Linked DNA regions of Homo sapiens: region 2 is linked to region 1. Evidence: promoter capture Hi-C in 16 types of primary human blood cells and fetal thymus (Javierre and others, 2016). All regions are on one chromosome and are shown on one strand. The core of a region is centred on a gene start or on the middle of the fragment in contact, and the rest is flanking DNA. Distances in the headings are between cores, read along the strand shown. Region 1 holds the start of ARHGEF28 (Rho guanine nucleotide exchange factor 28). Region 2 has its middle 17 kb from the start of ENC1.

What was found. The method cuts DNA at HindIII sites, captures the fragments that hold promoters and counts their contacts. A CHiCAGO score of 5 or more calls a contact.
Region 2: a contact is called between a fragment that was not itself captured here and the fragment with the promoter of ARHGEF28 in region 1, in 1 of 17 cell types (M0 macrophages). The highest score is 5.0, in M0 macrophages.

Annotation. Positions count from the first base shown.
Region 1 is chr5:73,623,367-73,631,203 of GRCh38, reverse strand. ARHGEF28 (Rho guanine nucleotide exchange factor 28) reads right to left here and starts at 5,008. Exons shown (of 36, transcript NM_001177693.2): 1 at 4,882-5,008. RefSeq lists a silencer at 5,210-5,299. The HindIII fragment of the contact is 6,049 bases long and covers 1,151-7,199 here.
Region 2 is chr5:74,653,707-74,661,543 of GRCh38, reverse strand. It overlaps a transcript of HEXB not described here. Among named protein-coding and RNA genes, the nearest start is that of ENC1, 17 kb to the right of the region's middle. The HindIII fragment of the contact is 461 bases long and covers 2,461-2,921 here.

The DNA.
Region 1 (7,837 bases), core at 3,759-6,258:
GTCCTTCATGAGACTTCTTTGCCTGATAGAAATTATTTTTATCATAAAATTAAACAGTCAGCCCACTTGTCTTTCCTCTTTCCAGAGCTATACCACCCCTCTTCTACATGAGGGGTTCTTCAGAAGAAGAGGACTAGGGCAGCCATATGGCCCACACAAGGAATCTGGACTTGCATGTCTGAAATCTCTTTGGACTAAGTCCAGGAAGATAACTCCAAGTCATTTAAACCTGATGACTGTCTGGTAGTCAAGGAGAGATAAGGAATAAGAGTGACAGCTCATCATCTATTCAAATGCCTATTGCAGGCACAATGCTAACCTTTTAGACAGTACCTTTCCAGTAGTGTTGACCAAGACAAGTAAAGCAAATTGACAAATACATCACATTCACATTCAATTCATCAAGACTGAGTAGAATGTTAAAAAATGGGTTGCTCTTAGAGGTCATCCAGTCTAATCCTTTCCATTTTACTGGATGAGGAAACTGGGACCAGATAGGGTTCCAGTAGGAATATTCACCCAAGGTCACAAAACTGGAAAGCCAGAGGACTCCATCCCTTCCTCCAACTCCCAGCCTAGGGCAATTTCTCCTGGGGTCACACTGACATCTCACTACCTTCTGAAAGCTGAAAAACCTGCTACCCTTTTATCCTTTTTAAATGGTTATTTTCCATTTGCTATAACTACAACTTACTCTCTGTCAGGCACTACCAGGAGGGTTCTCTGTAAATTAAATCACGGAGTCCTCACAACAGTTGAAGCAGGTTACTATTATTATCCGCATTTTACAAATGGAAAAACCTGAGGTAGAGAGAGGTCACATAGCCAGGGCAAAGTTGGGGCTATTTAACCCAGACAGTCTGGCTCCAAAGTCCACATTCTAACCCCCTTCATGAGAGTTTATGAAATATAATTTCTTGAATTATAAAATGATGGAAGAAAAGGAGTAAGTCTTAAACAGAAAGGGCATGGTCACTAGTGTTTGATAATGAATTGAAAAGCTAAACCATAAATGTCATTAATATATACAATATACGCTTCATCTATTTATTAAGGGAATGTCTATTATATATATTTGAAGCATATTAACATTTCAAGTGTATATTTTTTAAAGGCACAATGATCATGTGCACAGCAGTCACACAAAGCTTGCCACTAGAAATAGGCAGAATGCTATTTGCCTGCTGGCTTTGGAAAGGTCTCTTCTGAACAGGCTACTATGGAGAGCAAAGCCACCACTGCTGATTTCTGCCTGTTGGTCCTCACTCATAGACACATTTTCATCTGCTCTTAAGAGAACATCGCTTGTATGTTAACTTTCTACAGAAATCAGACCTCGAGTTATTTATAATTGAGGGAAAGATTAAACTAAAACAAGAGAAAACACCTCTGAAAATTAAAATACATTTTTATACAAGTGTTCAAAACCAGTATCACTGGAACAAATGCCCACTATTCAATTATATACTTTTTTACTTTCTCTCATTAAAAAATGATGTCAGATCTCATTATCTTGGTTATCCAGGAGAAGAAGTCCAGGAGCAATAATGTTACAAATAAGCAAATTACTATTGTGCCTGAGATCAAATTTCAAGGGAAAAATGGAAGTCAATTAAGAAGATGCACTATCACATTAAAAAAATAAGTTACATGACTTATTTTGCCAGTCAAATGTCTTTAATTTTTTTTTTTTTTTGAGACAGAGTCTTTTTCTGTCACCCAGACTGGAAATGTGGTGGCACCATCTCAGCTCACTGCAGCCTCTACTTCCCCAACTCAAGCTATCCTCCCCACTCTGCCTCTCAAGTAGCTGGGACTATAGGCACACACCACACACCACCATGCCTGGCTAGTTTTTGTATTTTTTTTGTAGAGACAGGGTTTTGCCATGTTGCCCAGGCTGGTCTTGAACTCCTGGGCTCAAGCAATCCTCCCACTTCAGCCTCTCAAAGTGTTGGGGTTATGTGCATGAGCCACCACCCCCACCCTGGCCAGCCAAATGTCTTAATGTGGAGTGTGCAAAAGTCTACTCCGAAAATGCAACAGACCCTAAAAACTCTAAAGCCAGAAAAGTGTCACCTTCAACACGGAATCCAAAGATCAGAGAATCAAAGCAAAGAGCAGTGCTGGGCACATAGTAAGACTTCAACAAATATTAGTTGAATGAATGTAAATGAAGAACATGTTCATAGAAAGAGAGCCCCATAATAGAGATTGTCAAAATGGCAAAATAGTAGAGTGACACTGCCTTGGGCTTCCGAGAACTTCCAATACCATGATAATAACAAAAGAACTAAGGGTCACAGAGACTGGACAAAATGGCAGAGTATCATACAAATGGAGCAAAATGCTCTGTGATACAGGACCTGACCTACACTTCTTAAGCAAGAAAAATATCTCAAAGCCCAGCTTTGCCTAAGTAGAGATGTGGACTCAAGTCTGACAGGGTGGCATATTTACAGCACAACTTTAGCATGGCAGAATTCCCTGAATTTGGTGCACTTCAAATGTAACACTGTTTTTACATCCTCAGTAGGAGTTGCCCAGGTTGACCCACCTCTTCATAACAAATCTTATTTAAGGTTATGGGCGGGGGCCGGTGGGGGGATCCCAGAGCTACTCTGCTTCACTAAAAGCAACATAAATACAAATGCAATTACACAAAACCTACACAAACCAGATCTGTCATATCTGATTAGTAAATAAAAGCATAATAAAATTATAGTCAGCCTAGGTAATTTAGGCTCTGTTCAGTACCATCCTAGCCATGCCCAAGTGGTGAGGCTTTTCCAACATTTATATCATGAATCTTTTTTTCTTGGAATTCAGTCCTTGGTCATAAACTGGCAGGACTTGTTGGAGCTTGGGTACCAATATAGTGGTGTACAGAATGTTTAATATAGAAGTAATAGTATATGCTGCAATTTGTTTTAATACCTACTTAGAACACATAGTCTTTTCTCACGGGGCATACTAAAGGAGGTCATGTATCAGAGCTCACCTGAAATTCCTGCCCAATTTAAGTCTTAGCCACAAGTGTAGTTTCTTATAAGAACACAATAAGAAAACATTCCAAACTCTTCTGCAGTACTCACATAATTAAAAAAAAAAAGTATGAAACCCACCCAAGTGAGGCTTCTGAGACATTTCATAGAAACTTAGTTATTAACTACTATTTTTCTTCTTTACCTTTAAGTGTTTATAAACTGCTTAAAGGACAGTTGGGTACTTCAGAGGAAAGTCTAATGACACGCCTGCTATACAACCTGTTCTTAGTTGGCCAGATTGTGTGGTTTTGATAAGGAAAAAAAAAAAGTCAAAAGCAGGACAAACACTGATTCTCTGTTCTCCATTCTCCCATTACCCAAGACATTCATCTGAGTCACACACTCTATAGCTAGCTCTGAGCCTCAGTTTCCCTAACCATTAGCTATAAGATCTGATGCTAGCCAAATTCCTATTTGATCAAAGTTAATCAGCCCAATAATCACATATAGAGTCCACATCAGAACATTACATTGAAATACTATGTTGTATTAAAAATTCCAAAGGGTTTTGCCATATTCATCTCTTTTCTGCAAATACTCCAAAGGGGTTACTTTGGCTATTAATCAAGATTAGGCAAATACCCATGTGCTTTAGGAATGTGTAACTAAAAACCCAGGACAGATCTAGAGAAACCTTCCCAGGTTTCCCAGAAGTCATCACTACGCTTGGATTGTCATGTACAAAGTAGATGCCACAGAACCTAACAAGGGTAGGTCCTTGATTTGTTTTTGCAGTGAAAACAGGATTTCACTTACACCTGACAGCTTCAGGGCCTAGGAACACAAGATAACAACGCTTCAGAAAGCCAGGGGCCCCATGGAACCCCAAATGATCAGTTCTTTATAAACGAAAATTAAAGATCTTACTTTCTTTGGATTTTGCCCAATTGGTGTGGTCCGTGGTGAACCTCTATAACTCCTGGTGTGAGGAGATGTGTGGATACCCAGGCAGGGGTCAAGGCGGGAGAAGCCGCACAAACACAGATGTTGCCACTGTTCCTCGGCCCACCCAGCCAACCAATGCGGGGACGCTGTGGGCCTATAGAGATGGATTCTTTCTTAGAAATCTAACTGGTCTCTGGGAAACCAAAGCTGGGTATCCAGGGCCGCCTGAGCACCCAGTTTCCATACAGCCCTCGACCCAAATGGTGCTTTCTTGGCCAAACACCGGCCTGTCATTCGGAAAACCTAAGCACGGGAAGGCTGGGGCACCACCACATACACCCCGGGTATTTAAGGGGAAACAAATCCATAAAATAAGCGTAAGGAGTCCCACATAATTCTGACCACCTTTCCCAACCAAGGTAACCATAAATGCCTTTTGAAACACAGCAGATGCTTCCACACGAGTAAGTGGTAGTGCGTGTGTCCTGAGCTTGCGTTCCGTCTGCATTCTGCGGTCCTGGCCCTGCCAAGCACCCTCAGTCCCGGAGCTGAAGCATGGATGGGAAGGGCGGACACCAACTCTCGACGTTCTCCCTTCTCCACCGCAGGAGTGCTGTTTATTTCCCTGTCTCCCGAAGGACACTGGCGGGGCTTTCACCCGCCCAGCCCCCGGCTCTCAGTGCGCCCGAGCGACCCCGCGCTCCGCAGCTGCCGCCGCCGCACGAGGCTGCGCCGCCCTCTCCACTTGTTGCCGCTCCCGAGGGAGCGGGAGGCGGCGCCCAGCCCTCGCGCCGCAGCGCCTGCAGCGGTTCCCCGGTCACCTCTGCTGACCCTCGCATCCCTGGGGACCCTGGAGAAAGTGGCCCTGCGGATGCGAACTCAGGTGGACAAACTTTTCCGCCCAGAGCTGCAGGGAAACGCAGACGATGGAGTCCCAAAGAGCATTTACCTGGAGCGATGGCCCCGCAGCCTCCAGAACCCAGGCGAGGCTCTGCCCCCGCGCCCTGCCTGAGGGCGCCTCGGAACGCGCCCCCAGCCAGCCGCCGCCCGGAGTCCGGAAGGCTCTCCCCGGCGATGCCAACGCCTGGCGGCGGCCGGGCTGAAGCCAAGGTTTAGGGGGTGGAGCCGCGGCCGCGCGCCCGGGCCCGGCTGGCTGCGCCAGCAGCGGGTGCCGCCCCCGCTCCCCCCGCTCCCCCCGCGCCTCCCCGCTGCCACTGGATCCCCGCCTGCCCACCTCCCGGCCCGGCTCGCGGCGGCCGCATCACATGGCGAGGCCCGCCCGCCGGCCGCGCCCGACACCGGCTCCAGGAGGAAACCTGAAGCTGCCCCTACCGCGCTGTCTCCGCCAGCCCCCTCCCGCTGCGGGGCTGCGGCCGTTGGCCTCCGGAGATCGGAGGCGCGGAGGCTGGCGCGGACCTGGCGGGCCACAGGAGTGCCAGTTGCGCCCCGGGCGCCCCCACGCCTTGGCGCCTCCCGAGGGAGGCGCTGGGCTGCCCGCTCGCGAAAGGAGTTGTGCCAGGCCCGAGGGAGGCTCAGGCTGTTCCCAGCCAAAAGCCACCACACCCGTGACATAATACGGCCCGGGTCTATTACAATAGGAAATATTATTTTTAAAAACAGCATTTGCCCTCTTATTTGAAGCTCATGTTCCCTGGCCGAGAGCTTTGCAAGCTGCGATTCCCTTCACGTTTATGCACGCAAGTGGCTGCAAGTCTTAATTCAAAAACGTATGAAAACCATAACCACTTTTACAATGAACAGCAATGTGAAGGGACTTCCTTATCCTCCAAAGCAGTTTTCCTCTTAGATGTGATGACAGCCCCAAGAGCAGAAGCCAAGCCTCTTCATCAGCCAGGCTCTCATATACAGACTTAAGACCATTATTGCAGCTTTAAAGGTAAAATTGCCCATCTGAGACTGCTGTGGCAGTAAGTGTTATAGTTAAGACTATTTGTAAGGAAATTAGTATTGAAATATAAAGTTTCTAATAAAATTTATAAAATCACCTTGAGTCTCTGCTTTGTTTTTCCTTTGAAGACTGGCTACGCACAGAACCATAACAAAGGTGTGGCCCGAGGAAGCTGGCCACCAAGATCCCAAGCCAGAATGGAGCCCAGCTCCCAGGCTGCCACCACCACTTCTCCTGGGCCTGGGCCTTTTCTGTCTCCCTTCCAGCCGCCACCTTCCCCAGCCCACCTTGCTGATACGAATGCTGAGAAAGGCTGAGATTAGCAAGAGAAAGACCATCGTGTGTCTGAATGCCTTAGCCCTGTTCCAAGGCAAAGGCTGCAATTCCGCCTTGGGAAAGGGACCCCAACACTGGCATTGCACTCCTGACCTGGGCTGTCATCCCAGCTGATTCCACCCTCAGCCCCACAGAGCTGTGAACTCAAGGCCTGGCCTCAGGCGCTGCCACAAAAAAAAAAAAAGAAAAAAAAAATATATATATATATCCTGCCCAGTGTCAAGGTACACAAGATAAAAATAAAAGCAATAATATTCTTTTCAAAAATAGAAAAAATTTTGAGCAGGGCGTGGTGGCTCACACCTGTAATCCCAGCACTTTGGGAGGCTGAGGCGGGTGGATCACCTGAGGTCAGGAGCTCGAGACCAGCCTGGACAACATGGTGAAACCCCGTCTCCACAAAAACACACAATTTAGCTGGGTGTGTTGGTGCGTGCCTGTAATCCCAGCTACTCGAGAGGCTGAGGCAGGAGAATCACTTGAACTGAAGATTAACTGAATCAACATGCCAGACAAAAATGGTTTCCAAACTCTGGTGAATAAACATGGTGATGTGTTAGAAGCCTTTGTTGTTATTGTCCTTTTTCATATCACTAGTACTGAAGCCCTCTTTTTCTTTTTTTTTTTTTTTTAATTCTGGCAGGTATGTATCTTTTTTTAAAAAACAAAAAAATGTGGAAAGAGGAACAAATATTATAAGAAGTTACCCCCAAGCCCCTTCCCCACTAAAAAGAAACCAGCAAAACTAGTAATTGTGAAACTCTCACCACCCAAGGACATACAATGCTAGCTGCAGTTTTCTTGCCTGCTCTCAAGCCCTGAGCTTGATCAATATTTAAATACGTACTTGGCTTTCAACTTCTCTAGGTTCAAATATTAAGCAAAGTGTTTGCTTCAGCAACCTTAAAAGAAGCCGTGACTATCTGAGGCAGGAAGCTATCAGTTGTGTAAATAACCCTTTGCACCTGATTGATTTCACTGCTCCAGATATAGGTCACTCAGGACATTGCTGGCACTAAGCTTGGCTGGGACAGCATTTGTTTTGAATTCAAAGACTATATATTCTCTACAGACAAGGGACATTCAGCCAGCAAGAAACCAGGCTGGCCATTCAGTTAGGGAAATTCTAACTGCCTAGTGAGTATTATGCCAATGTCCTAGCTCAGCTCTGTCTTTTCTAGAGATTCAATCCCCATTCATCCTTACATACTTCACTCCAGATAGACCTCCTCCATAAATCCTTACATTGTCCTGGTTTCTGCTACCCTCTGAATTTTGGCAAAGCATAATGGCCTTACTACACAGTGTAGCACCTGATTATATTAACTGTCACATGTTGGACAACTGTAGGCTCTTATCCTCCCTTCAACTTGAAATTCAAGGACAAAACCTGTTCCTTACCCCTGTAATCTTCACAGTCCCAACACAGGGCATTTCTGGAGTATTTAGTATTTGTTTTTTAATTGAACTATCACATCCATTATGCAAGAAGAAAAATGTCACCATTTTCAAACTTTAATGAATTATAACCACTGCTAATTATATTATCTATTTAATTATTTCCTGGCCTTCATTATATTTCCTTTGTCAATAATTCTCAAAAATTGGATAATTGTAAATCTGATGTTTAGCCACGTGAGTTAGGGAATTACTAGTGTTT
Region 2 (7,837 bases), core at 1,442-3,941, 1.0 Mb before region 1:
CACACACACACACACACACACACACACACAGAGAGAGAGAAAATGAATTCATGACTTCTTTGTTGTAACACCACTGTCTTCAATCAAAAGGTCCTAAAACAATAGAAAATATTATTTAAAAAAATATGAGTCATGCTGTTCAGGACTAAAGGAGTAAAGATTTCTGAAGATAGAGGAAGACATGGGTCCCCAGCTGGCTTGCCTCCTGTTTTTCCTGATTTTCCTTTTCATTTTTGTTGATTTCACCCCATTCTCGTTCTCAGTCAGAGGATAACTCTTGATTTCAAGGACTGTGGATTTCGATTTATGTTCAGCTTCTGGAAGGCTAGGGTGATCTAACAAATGCTTATTACAGAAGCAACTGGCCTGTGCTATAGCTCTGGGCTTGTCATCCCAAAAGCCAGAGAGGCAACTTCTCAGCAGCCCCCGACGCCCACAGACATGTGGCTCACTGTGGCTCCAGCTGGTGCTGTCTGGAATGAAGGGTGAAGGCCACTCTCTCTCTCTCTCTATCTCTCTCTCTCTCTCTCTCACTGACCCATGGATTTCTTGTTGCCATGTTCCCTTTACAAGTGAGATGCTGTTATGCCCGGTGTCTTTTTCCTATATTTTTGCTTTCTCGAGTTGATCTTTTTCTTCCAGTCAATGCCTTGTCTTTCTTACTTGTCTGTAGTTGCTTCTCTGGCTTAGCTTGGTTCTTCTCGAATGGCAATTTGTGTATCCCCAGGGATCAGAGGCCTCTTTGATGAGATCTGTGAGCACTAGAACATTTTTTATGTTTTTTTTCCAGTGGTAATCAAAATATGATTTTACCAGTCATAAAGGCAACATTTTCTTAGAATATGAGTTTTGTATTGGGATTGCATTCAGCTGCTGCTAGGAAGAACAGATACAACCAAGGGTAGCTTAGGCAAACAAGTTCTAATTCTTCTCATTGACTGGGATTGGGAGCATCTGGAGTGGGAGCTGATGGCTCCATTTAGTGGCTTGATGATATTATGGCTGGTGTCCCTGTGACACTCTTGTTTTGTCCCTTATAGCTACAAGCTGGCTGCCACAGCTTCAGGCATCATGACCTATGTTTGAAGCAGGAAGAGGGAGAGAGGTGGCATCAGCCATATCAGCCTCTTTTAACAGAAAAGCAAAAATTTTCCCAGATACCTCCTAGCAGGCTTCCTTTTACATTTCTTTGTCACAAGCTGAGTCACACAGCTACTCCTCATTAAAAGGGAGGCTGGGAAATCAACTGCCTGGTAACAGGAACAGGATTGTAATCGTTGGCTTTGATCAATCACAAGTCATTATTTAGGGCTGAACATATTGTTTGGGATACAATTAGAGTTTGGCTATCAGGGAGGAATGGCTGTTGGGCATGAGATGAGTGAGCCCAGCTAAGTTGAGAGTCCCTGCACCCCACTGTCCTCCTCTTTCTTCCTTTTCCAAATGTCCCTTTATTTATTCATTTATTTTTTTTACAAAGATTAGGGTCTCTCCTCTCCCTTTGCTTCTTGCTGAGTAAAGGTGATGATGTCCTCTCTGCCTTTGTCTCCTAATCCTCTCCATTCCATCAGTTATAGACAGAGCATTTCCCCTCACCCTCCCCTTCTGCCCTTCATCCTCAAGGTGGAAAAGAACATTATTTCTACGCTAAGAGTTTGCTTTGACTTCAGAAGTATGATACTAAATTTCAGATATTTAGCAAAGTTTTAAGGTTTAAATTTCATTTATTCTCATCAAAATTCAATTTCCTGGGTTGAAGAAGAGCACTTCATGTGCAATATTAGTTTTTGCTGAAGTCCCCTAGAGTTAAGTGTTGGCTGATTGAAAAGATAAGGGAGAAAGAATTTAGCAAAATCCATGGTTTTTCCCAGAGCAGGAATGAGCTGGGCTTATTCTCCAGCTCTCACGCTTACCTTTCTTCTATTGGAGGCCCACCCCACTTTTTCTCCATATTCACATCTTCTAAGAACCTTCCCATCCTTCTTTACACCTTCTATTTTTTCTTTCTACTTTCATGTCTGCTGCTAACTGACTCATATTTCACTACCCTGCAATAACTTTGAGTTTAGAATCACCTGTGGCTTCCCCGCTATCATTTTTGTAATTTCCCTGAGACAGACAAGTGGCCTTGTCTCCTCCAGGATCAGCCCTCCACCTGCCCTGCACTGGGGATTGTGTGCTGTCCAGCGTGTTTCAAGCTTAATGTGCTCCTGGCCCTGACCATGGTCTATTGGGCAGACTAAGAAATCAGGCACTGCATGTTCTGTTCTTAGTTTTGCCATGAACGCTGTGAGGTCTCAGGCAGGTGACTTATGGTGAAAAATTTATACATCTCTGGGAAATAATTTCAAAATTCAGTATTCTCAAAGTATGTTGGGATTACTGATGCAAATATCATATAAGTACCAAAGACAAGTTTTTTTTTTCCAGTTTTAAAAGTCTCTTTTTCCCACAAAAGCTTTTAAATGTGATATAAAGATATATTAAAATGAAAGTTAAATGCAAGGAGAAAGCTACATATTGTACTGAATTGAAACATATTGGAGCAGAAGCTCCAGTCTTCTCATGGTGTGGGGATATACCCACAGTTAGCCAAACTGTGAGGCTCAAGGACATAGTACCTAAGATTGGCCTTACTTCTGACACCAACTGCAAGTTTAGAGGGTGGGTTCCCTAAATCATTCTCAGATTTGAGAATTCACTAGAAGGACTTCAGAACCCACCAAAAGCTATTATGCTCCTAGTTATCGCAGGAAAAGGATACAGATTAGGATACAGATTAAAATCAGCCAAAGGAAGAGATGCATAGGGCAGAGTTTAGGAAGGTTCCAAAAGTGAATCTTCTGTCATTCCTAGGACACATTATTTCCCTGGTACCCAAGAGTGATAATACATAAGGGATATTACCACCCAGGGAAGCTTACTTGAGCCTCAGTGTTCAGGAGTTTTATTGCGGCCCCGAGACATATGCATGACTGATTGATTGATTGATTGCCCACCTAGCTGATCTTAGCCTCTAGGTCAACTGATACCATGTGACCCAAAGCCTCTACTCTCAGTTACATAAATGGCCTCTCTGGTGTGACTGGCTCCATCCTAAGATCTGGTGGGTCCAGGCCCTGCCCTAAACAAAGAAAGCAGCTCAGGGCAAAGGCTGACCTGTCTTTGGGCAAGGCGAAATTCTTTACCATGCAGAATGCTTTGCTTTTTAGTTATTATTGACATCTGTGGTGGTGCTTCTGGGAGAGTGCTCAGTAAGAGAGGCCATCAGGGACATTCTGGAGGAGGAAATGTGTTCATGGGTGCCAGCCTTCAAATGCAGTTGCTTTGAGGCCCATTTTCCTTCTCACCAGGAATGCCCTCCTAATGCTGGGAGGCACATGTGCTGAAGCCCTCAGTGCTGCTAGTTCCCAAAGCTCACAGACATCAGACGTGCTGGCAAGGCAAGGGCTCTGGGGCCTTCAGTATTTCAAGATGCCAGTACCCTAGGGATTCACAGGCAGTAGACATTTCTGGAAGCTGATGACCTGCCATCAACTAGGTCACAGTCTGTGAACACTTGCACTGGAGATTCTTGGGAGCAAAGGCTTAGGGGATTCAAAGAGACCAAGTAGCTTGAATCGGAAAGTGGACTGAAAAACCCGGACTTCATATACAACAAAAGCGTAACATAGGCTGTTATATACAACAAAAGGGTAACATAGGCTGAGATCAGAAGACGCCACATGACATGTGAGGCACAGAGGCCACAACAGCAGCAAAAGGAGCATCTAGGACACAGAGATCTTTAGAAACCATGTGACTACACAAATAACAAGCGTCAAGTGTTCAAAGGAAAACACATTCTTATTTAAGGGTTTATTAGCTTTCTAATAAAATTTTGATGAATAGCTAACTCTCCATTCATTTTATTTAACAAATATTTTTTGTGCATGAGGAATCAGCCGAGAGCAAAATAGACAAAGTTCTTCCCCATGTGGAGCTTGCTTCCTTGTGGGAGTTGTAAATAATAAATAAACAGACATTGTGAAGTGGTGATAAGTGCTCCGAAGGAAAATCCAGCAGGGTGAAGGGATGGAGAGCAAGGAGGTTGCTATTTTAGACCAGGAGCTCAGGGACAGGCTCGCTAATAGGAGTTATCTGAGCAGAGAGTTGAATGAAAGGAAAGACCTGGTCACTTGGTTATTTATGGTAAAAGTTCCAGGCAGAAGAACAGTAAGTGCCAGTGTCCTGAGGCTGGAGAGTGGTGGGTATCTGGGGACAAACAGGGCAGCCAGTGTGGCTGGAACAGAGATGAGACTGGATAAGTAGGGCCTTGTGGCTCATGGAAAGGAGATGGAAGCCACTGGAGGGTATAAAGTGTACATTTATCAGGGACAACAAAAATTCACACACACGACCCCTCCCCACCAACAGTCTGGGAGGTTCTGTGTTGCCTCCTGTTCTTGTCGCTGTGTTGACCAGGGGTGACTGTGGAAGAGCCTTAGAGGGAGCTGAGAGGCTAAAGGGTTCCTATCAGAAAGGTTATGGAGTGACTGTGGAAAGCAATGGAATCCAGAGGGCACAGCCAACGAAGCAGCAGCAAGGGGGGCTGTTACTGAGATGAGAGAGACTTTGGAAAAAGGTTTTAGAGGCTGGACGTGGTGGCTCACACCTGTAATCCCAACATTTTGGAAGGCTGAGGCGGGTGGATCACCTGAGGCCAGGAGTTCAAGACCAGCCTGGGCAACATGGTGAAACCCCGTCTCCACTAAAAATACAATAATTAGCTGGGTGTGGTGGCATGTGCCTGTAATCCCAGCTCCTCAGGAGGCTGAGGCAGGAGAATTGCTTGAACCTTGAACCCAGGAGGTGGAAGTTGCAGTGAGCCAAGATCATGCCACTGCACTACAGCCTGGGCGAAAGAGGGAGACTCCATCTCAAAACAAAAAGATTTTAGAACGTTCCACTCTGTGTCATGCAATGTGTGCAATGTGGTTCCTCATCTGCTTCTCCTGACTTTTATTTTATTTTATTTTATTTTATTTTATTTTATTTTATTTTATTTTATTTTATTTTATTTTTTGAGACAGAGTCTCACTCTGTCATCCAGGCTTCAGTGCAGTGGTGTGATCTCAGCTCATTGCAACCTGTGCCTCCCGGGTTCAAGTGATTCTCTTGCCTCAGCCTCCTGAGTAGCTGGGATTACAGGTGCCCACCACCACACCCAGCTAATTTCTGTATTTTTAGTAGAGACGGAGTTTCACCATGTTGGCCAGGCTGGTCTCGAACTGCTGACCTCAAGTGATCCACGCTGCTGACCTCAAGTGATCCACCCGGCTAGGCCTCCCCAAGTGCTGGGGTTACAGGTGTGAGCCACTGTGCCCGGCCTCCAAGGGACTTCTTACATTAAGTTGCAAGGCTTTTTTGGAGTTGGAGTCATGATTCTTTTGGACACAATGCTCAGCTGAGACCAACCCCAAGGTGGCCCAGCTTTATTCAGGATTCATTTTTGTTTACAAAGTCCATGAAATGATTGATGAACTAGCTACTTAATAGCCTTTTCTAGTCAATTCTAAATATTTTCCTTTTCCTTGAAGAATTATGTCACTTCAGAATATTTATGTGACTGTCATCATGCAACAGGTAATCTCAGTAGGAATCTCAAATTTGCTACTGACAGCTGTATTATCTCAGGCATGTCACTTGATCATTCCAAGTGCCAGTATTCTTACCTATAAATGGAGATAATTTTTTCTAAAATTCTATTCAGAATTTTTGAGGATAAAAAGATATTGTGTATGTAAAAAGTAATGCAAATGACAATCATTATTTTAACTGATTTCTTTTAATTAGCAATTTGGAGAGTAACATGCTCACTAAATATATGTGGAGAAAATTCAAGAAATAATTAAAATGAATGATTCTGAGGCCAGGAGCGGTGGCTCATGGCTCTAATCTCAGCACTTGGGAGGCTGAGGCAGGCGGATCACTTGAGGTCAGGAGTTTGACACCAGCCTGGCCAACGTGCTGAAATCCTGTCTCTACTAAAAATACATTTAAAAAAACAAACAAAAAAACAAACTTAGCTGGGCATTGTGGTGCAGGCCTGTAATCTCACCTACTCAGGAAGTTGAGGCAGAAGAATCACATGAATCTGGTATATGGAGGTTGCAGTGGCGAGATCGTGCCACTGCTCTCCATCCTGGGTGACAGAGCGAGATCCTGTCTCAAAAAAAAAAAAAAAAAAAAGTTTAATGCTTGAAGGGTTATTATCTCCATGTTTGTCCAGGTATTGGTTAGAACATTCTTAAAAGCTTGATGTTCTTATCGCTGCCCTTTTTAGTGCCTGTTATGAACAACCATGTCATTTTCTATCCCTTTCTTAACAGATACCTGGTGCAGTTGCTGATGAGAAGGGGCACTCAAAACCAAGGAGAAACTAGTGTGGCTTTCCCAGTGCTACACTCACCTCCACCCTCTCTGGGAGCCTCTCTTGGGGGGCTCACCTGCTCCCATGGCCTGGTCCCTGCTCCTGTGCCTGTGGGATCCAGATCCGTCCGCAGGTCAAACACCAGCTTCAGGTCCCTGGACATTTCACCTCCCATATTCAGCGGTCCTGAGCTCACCATCTCTCCACTCCCCCGCTGTCCCAGTCAATGGCATCATCTGCAGTTTGTGTGTGTCCTGCTTCCCGGCCTCTCTCTTAGTGTAGCCCCTCATCATTGCCCACATTCAATTCACAGCTGCCCCTGGCCTGGCCTAGCTCCCCTCTAGCGCACTCCCCACATGGCAGCCAGAGTGTTGCTCTAAAATACTCGATTATGTCTTTCTAGTTTAACCTTTCAGAGGTTCCCTGTGGCTTTAGGCCCCATGTGCCTTGTGAGGCTCATTCCTTATTCCTCGTTTCCCCCTCTAGATCCACTAAACTCTCATACCCAGCTCAGAAATCACCTCCTCCTGAAAGCCTTCCCTCATCTGCCTAGAAAGTCTCTCATTTTTCTACACTGTATGCAATGTATTTATTTATATATTGGACCCTCTTAACCAGTAAGGGTTTACCTCACTTCCAAGGAGGCATTATTTCAGGGAATTGGGGAGCTGTTAGTATATCTCGTGGGAATGTCTTTGTGTGATTCTGTGGTTACAGCCATCTTCTGCAATGCTGCGTCTTGTCAGGCCTCTGGACTCAAGTGTGTTTTGCAGACCAGCAGTGTCGGCATCACCTGGGAGCTCGTTAGAAATGCAAAATTTCTGCCCCCATCCCAGACTTCTTGAATCAGAATCTGCAGTTTAACAAGTTCCCCAAGTGATTCGTGTGCACATTAAAGTTTGAGAAGCACTGGATAAATACCTGCTGTCTTGGAGACAGATGTTTTCAGTGAGCCACATTCCAGAGATGCATTGGCTCCTCACACTCAGGAGCACCTAGTGTGAGCTGGCTACACCTGGGTCCACAAGAATGATCTTGGGTGGGGCAAAGGGAGTGAGGGCAGCTTCACCAGGATGGAGCCGGGAGGACTCACTGTCTACACCTGGAGCCCCTCAAGCTGGCGTCCATAGGATAAGTGACACCTTGATCTTTTTTTTGCATGGGAAATTGAGATGTTTGGCATGGGCATGGCCTTATTACTGATTTAGAAGCCTGCAACTAGACCACACCCCTACTAGTCTCTGAGCTCTTTGAAGATGTGACCTATCGACCTCTATAACCAGACACATAGTAGGCGTTCAATAAATTTTTTCTGTTGAATTTTGGCTTATGTGCTATCTTTCCATTGTGCCTTTCATAACTCTCTGGTCAGCAGAGTGTACAATCCACTGATTTTGACAGAAGGATTTCAGTCATGCCAGGTTT